Regions from separate parts of the Homo sapiens genome. Here region 2 is linked to region 1. The links are contacts of gene promoters, found by promoter capture Hi-C in blood cells and fetal thymus (Javierre and others, 2016). All regions are on one chromosome and are shown on one strand. Each heading gives the region's core, a stretch centred on a gene start or on the middle of the fragment in contact. The rest is flanking DNA. Distances are from core to core; before and after follow the strand shown. Region 1 holds the start of FANCF (FA complementation group F). Region 2 overlaps GAS2 (growth arrest specific 2).

Evidence for each region. Contacts are between HindIII fragments. The CHiCAGO score rates a contact against its expected background, and 5 or more counts as called.
Region 2: a contact is called between a fragment that was not itself captured here and the fragment with the promoter of FANCF in region 1, in 2 of 17 cell types (naive CD4 T cells and non-activated CD4 T cells). The highest score is 5.9, in naive CD4 T cells.

Annotation. Positions count from the first base shown.
Region 1 is chr11:22,624,286-22,627,419 of GRCh38, reverse strand. FANCF (FA complementation group F) reads left to right here and starts at 1,597. Exons shown (of 1, transcript NM_022725.4): 1 at 1,597-3,134. The coding sequence starts at 1,610. The coding sequence ends at 2,734. It also overlaps a transcript of GAS2 not described here. RefSeq lists enhancers at 1,618-1,807, 1,134-2,033, 1,898-2,107, 2,488-2,537, 2,548-2,707. The HindIII fragment of the contact is 15,033 bases long and covers 1-3,134 here.
Region 2 is chr11:22,691,219-22,694,352 of GRCh38, reverse strand. All of the region lies in intron 3 of GAS2 (growth arrest specific 2), which reads right to left. Among named protein-coding and RNA genes, the nearest start is that of GAS2, 26 kb to the right of the region's middle. The HindIII fragment of the contact is 1,999 bases long and covers 559-2,557 here.

The DNA.
Region 1 (3,134 bases), core at 348-2,847:
CATCCTACTATCACATTTGAGGTTATTCATTTAATGTCTCTCTTAAATGGTACAAGATGAACTTCTCCACTCATGCTAGGACTGCATTTATTTTACTACTAAATCTGTAGCACCTCATACTATGTATCATAATAGGTGTTAAATATAAGAATAAATAAATGAATTAGTGATGCCTGTACATTTGCTAAAGGCAGGCTGCACACTTGGTTCTAAGTTTGTAGTAGCCAAGAAAAAGAATTTTAAGATTCATAGTATCCTTAGGATAAAATAAAATAACGATTTCAGGACCAAGTAAGAGTTTGAGATAACTAATAAAAATCAAATAATAGCCGGGCGCGGTGGCACACGCCTCTAATCCCAGCACTTTGGGAGGCCGAGGCGGGAGGATCACTTGAGGTCAGAAGTTCGAGACCAGCCTGACCAATAAGGTGAAATCCCATCTCTACTAAAAATACAAAAATTGGCCGCGCCTGGGCGACAGAATGAGACTCCGTTTCAAAATAAATAAATAAATGCATAAATCTGAATTAACAGCATGCACATCACTGCTTTACTTTCTAAAAGGTGTAGGAATGCTTATTTTAATAAATGAAAAATGACTCTTCCCCTCTTTTAAATTTGTTTCTCTTCCCCTTTTTGTTAAAGTACAAAACAAAACACCTTCCCCCACTTTTCGAATAGTTTTGGCTGTGTCTTTAGGACTGGAAGGAAATTCAGCTCAAATGAATTACTATATTATGAACTTAAGTAAGAATTGTTGTGCATTTTGTACAGAATGCAACTCCTAGGAGTTGACAAATGTTTGTTAAGTGCATCAGTGAGCGACATAGGACCTTCTCCTCCCTACTCTCTTGTCACGGTTTTTATTTAATCAAACATTTATTATTGTTCGATGCTCTTAAATGCCATTTCCTTCAGCTGATTATTTGTATGACAGAAGAGTCAATTAAGCTATTTTGTCCTAAAAATTACGAAAACGAAATGTACAATTGTGAAGTAAAATTTTGTTCCTTTGCAAATTTTAATAAATTATTGAAGTTTATTTTTTGTTTCAAATAATCTGGGCTTCAGTTCTAATAATGGAAGGACAATGTGAAGGCCCAGAATTCAGCATAGCGCCTGGCATTAATAGGAGGTCAGTACATTTTTAGTACATGTTTCTCAAATAGATCTTAAAATTTCATTTAAGAGCGTTTCCTCACGTCACAGTATGTCTCTGGCGTTACTTAATTTTGAAAAACCTCAACACAGATTCTAGTTTTAGGCAAAGCTCAGAAAATTTCTACTTAAGGATATTTCCAAAGCGAAAGGAAGCGCGGAGACGTTCATGACTGGCATCATCTCGCACGTGGTTCCGGAAATTCTCGGTAGGATGCCCTACATCTGCTCTCCCTCCACTAAGAAGAACCTCTTTGTGTGGCGAAAGTAAAAGTATTAGGGCTTTTAAGTTGCCCAGAGTCAAGGAACACGGATAAAGACGCTGGGAGATTGACATGCATTTCGACCAATAGCATTGCAGAGAGGCGTATCATTTCGCGGATGTTCCAATCAGTACGCAGAGAGTCGCCGTCTCCAAGGTGAAAGCGGAAGTAGGGCCTTCGCGCACCTCATGGAATCCCTTCTGCAGCACCTGGATCGCTTTTCCGAGCTTCTGGCGGTCTCAAGCACTACCTACGTCAGCACCTGGGACCCCGCCACCGTGCGCCGGGCCTTGCAGTGGGCGCGCTACCTGCGCCACATCCATCGGCGCTTTGGTCGGCATGGCCCCATTCGCACGGCTCTGGAGCGGCGGCTGCACAACCAGTGGAGGCAAGAGGGCGGCTTTGGGCGGGGTCCAGTTCCGGGATTAGCGAACTTCCAGGCCCTCGGTCACTGTGACGTCCTGCTCTCTCTGCGCCTGCTGGAGAACCGGGCCCTCGGGGATGCAGCTCGTTACCACCTGGTGCAGCAACTCTTTCCCGGCCCGGGCGTCCGGGACGCCGATGAGGAGACACTCCAAGAGAGCCTGGCCCGCCTTGCCCGCCGGCGGTCTGCGGTGCACATGCTGCGCTTCAATGGCTATAGAGAGAACCCAAATCTCCAGGAGGACTCTCTGATGAAGACCCAGGCGGAGCTGCTGCTGGAGCGTCTGCAGGAGGTGGGGAAGGCCGAAGCGGAGCGTCCCGCCAGGTTTCTCAGCAGCCTGTGGGAGCGCTTGCCTCAGAACAACTTCCTGAAGGTGATAGCGGTGGCGCTGTTGCAGCCGCCTTTGTCTCGTCGGCCCCAAGAAGAGTTGGAACCCGGCATCCACAAATCACCTGGAGAGGGGAGCCAAGTGCTAGTCCACTGGCTTCTGGGGAATTCGGAAGTCTTTGCTGCCTTTTGTCGCGCCCTCCCAGCCGGGCTTTTGACTTTAGTGACTAGCCGCCACCCAGCGCTGTCTCCTGTCTATCTGGGTCTGCTAACAGACTGGGGTCAACGTTTGCACTATGACCTTCAGAAAGGCATTTGGGTTGGAACTGAGTCCCAAGATGTGCCCTGGGAGGAGTTGCACAATAGGTTTCAAAGCCTCTGTCAGGCCCCTCCACCTCTGAAAGATAAAGTTCTAACTGCCCTGGAGACCTGTAAAGCGCAGGATGGAGATTTTGAAGTACCTGGTCTTAGCATCTGGACAGACCTCTTATTAGCTCTTCGTAGTGGTGCATTTAGGAAAAGACAAGTTTTGGGTCTCAGCGCAGGCCTCAGTTCTGTATAGGCAATGCTGTGTTATTACTTGAATATAGAATATATAGTTTACAAAATGAAAATTACAATGTTCTCACCAAATATATGCCTTCGTGTGTCCAAAGTATAATTATTTTAGATGCTAATTTTGAATAGTTTATTAAACAGTTATAAATATGCAAAGTAGCTGGCATGTAGTGTCACGGATTTTCTGGATAGAGGAAGTGATTGGAAGTACTCCACTTAAAGCCATGGAATTAGCAATAGTTTGCTTTTTAATAGAAGGCCCATTTGTAAGAATGTTGAAAATATGTGTACCGTTTAAAGAAAAAGCAGCTTTAAAGTGACAAACAAAATACCCTTTTTCTTTTAGTATGGTTTATTTTTCTAGGTTTTCTGTCCCTCCCTCAGTAGTGAAGAGTTTTCTTTAT
Region 2 (3,134 bases), core at 309-2,808, 67 kb before region 1:
GGAACACACGTTGGCACTTAATTTCCAGAGGCAAAGTGGATATGGCGGACAGAATACAATCTGGAGAGGCCAATCAGATCTCCTAGAATGACCTAAAGCACAGGAAATCTGATTATGGTTTATTAATCATGGGGCCTTGGGAAGTAAATTGAAAGTCAATTCCCTAAATTCTTATTTTTTTAACTTTTATTTTAAGTTCAGGGGTACAAGTGCAGGTTTGTTATATAGGTAAACTTGTGTCAGAGGGTTTGTTGTGCAGATTATTTAATCACCCAGGTATTAAGCCTAGTACCCATTAGTTATTTTTCCTGATCCTCTCCCTCCTCCTTCCCGCTACCCTCTGAAAGACACCAGTGTGTGTTGTTCCCCTGTATGTGTCCATGGGTTCTCATCATTTAGATACCACTTATAAGTGAGAACATGCAGTATTTGGGTTTCTTTGTATAACAAAAAGAGCAACAAATTTTCTGATTGCCCAATTCCCAGACTAGAGCCAAATTATAGACCCAGAGCTCACTGAATGAAGGCAGTAATGATCTCAAGTCTTTATATAAAGCTTCCTTCCAATCTCCAAAGGGACCTGATCTGTTTACTATGCATTCAGAAAAGGGAAATGCTTTGTGAGGAATCAGGTGACAGTTAGATTTTTTACCTAAACCTACTTTACACTATAACTAGTACACTTTTGCAAACATTAGATGTTATTTTTATAGTTTTACCTGAATGTGCAATTTGCATGGATATTCTCAAAAAATGTCATAATTTTTATCCTTGACACATGGAATAAGTTCTTTTGTGGTAAAAGTACCAAATAAAAAAAGCACACCTATTTAAAAAGTCAGAGATTCATGCTGTTATTAATGACCTGAACATTGCAAAAAATAAAAGTGACTTCTACCACATCTCAATGAAAATCAGTAAAAAAAGATTGACATGACTTGGAAACAGTGGGAAGATTACAATGAAGTAACATATTTAATCAGAATCGATGTTACAGATGTGGTCTTTTCAATGAAGTGTTATCACTCAATATCCTGGTACTTAACATTCATCTCTTGGTTTGGAGAATGGAATTTTCTTTATTCTTATAAGTAGAAAATTCCAGAATCAGTTTGCATATGTTTGACAGTAACAACAGAATTCTTACTATCCTATACACCATCTCCAGCCCTGTGACATAACCTACAGGGACCATGGATATTTCAACATCACAGGTCATCAAGCTCCTCTTCTATTTTACAATATTTGATATTGGAGATTTGATACTGCAAAGCAGGAATAGTAGGGAAACCAGACGGTTTCATAAAATACACACATTCTGGAGGGTAGAGAATAAATCTCATGAAAATGCAGAAAGGGGTTCTGCCAACTAAACAAAGTTTCAGCATCTAGTAGTAGGGGTCAGGTAGGAACATTGCCCTTTTAGGAAAGGACACGACACAAATGTTCCTCGCTTGTTCTTGTTGTCTGATGGAGACTGAATTTCTACCATGGGAACCAGTAATCATGAAACATTAAATGTTTATCATGAACTTAGTGCCATATGATCCACTGGGCCATATTTTTTATTGTGCCCAGCACTACTTTACCATTGAGTATGTGAAAGGAAAATATCTTGGGTCCCCAAAAATCACTAGGCTAAAAGGAAAACTCAAGCTGGAAAGTGCTGAGGACAAATGTGCCTCCCATTCTATTCAAAGTTATACCTCTGATGGCTGAGATAAATGCATTTCTGACTGCTTCCTTTGGAAAGGCTAATCAGAAACTCAAAAGAATGCGACTATTTCTCTCTCATCTGTCAGTGACCTGGAAGCATCCTCCCTACTTCGTGTCTTCCTGCCTTTGCCTCAAGTTGTCCTGCCTTTCCAGACCAAACCAATGTACTTCTTACATATATTGATGGATGTCTCATGTCTCCATAAAATGTATAAAACTAAGCTGTGCCCCTACCACCTTGGGCACATGTCATCAGGACTGCCTGAGGCTGTATCATGGGCGCACGTCCTCAGTCTTGGCAAAATAAACTTTCTAAATTAACTGAGACTTGTCTCCGATTTTCTGGGTTTACAAGTACAAGTGCCATGTATGGGATGGGCTCAATTAGACATGAAGATCTAGATAAGTTCCATAGGCACATCACTCACTCCCTATCTTGCCCAATTTTTCACATTGCTGCTTTCCGCTCCCCCACCCCCATCTGCAAATGTAGCCCATATCAAGTCTCCTGTGATGAGTTTTATTTGAAAAATAAAAGTCAAGCTCCTTTACATACCATTCTTTTTATTCTATATGATTTACCAACATGTATTGCTATGGCATTGAAGCCCGATTTAGGCATATCTCTGGAAGATAGTATAGAACAGAAACTCTCAGTGGAAAAAAAAACAAAAAACATTAAGCAAGACATTTCATTGTCTCTGATTTGGAGGTGAATAATTTGGCTATTTGGTCAGAGACTTAAAAAATAGTGACAGGGGGATTTAATTTTATACTGAGAAATAATTCAACCTCAGGAAGCAATTACAAAGTAAATAAAAAAATTAGTGTATTTAAAGCTTAAATATATTTTACCTATATTTTACAAATCCTGAGGAAGTGGACTTTACCACTAACTTTTCTTTTTCCTTTAGTCTCAGGCAGCAACATACCTATAAAAAAATTATTTCTTTCTACATCATGCCACTTATATTCTTCCCATCTCATCATAATATATTCTCTGTTTAATTCTAGCATTATGTTTGCAATTTAGAACAATAAATTTTAAGGGATATAAAATCATTTAGCTGTATAGCCAGCAATGAATGACTCCAGATTAATCACAGCTGAGATTTTATTTTCTTTTTCATACAAAACCTTTTATTGCATCTACCATACTTTCTTGTTCTGGCAGAGAGATCAGCAATAAACACAAATATCTGGATTTCTCAGAATTAAATCTTGATGAGATGTTCTCTAAACAAAAAGTGCTATTGATTTTTCTGAGAAGAAAATTTCTAATCTTTATGTCTTATTTAATTCCCAGATGGCACAAAACAACATCCTGAGGTATTGTTATCTTGCAGCTCAAGGAACCAAGTACTCCTGATGGGCAAATGTATTGTAGGCATTCTATCTGCAGGATGTTCTTTCTCCTG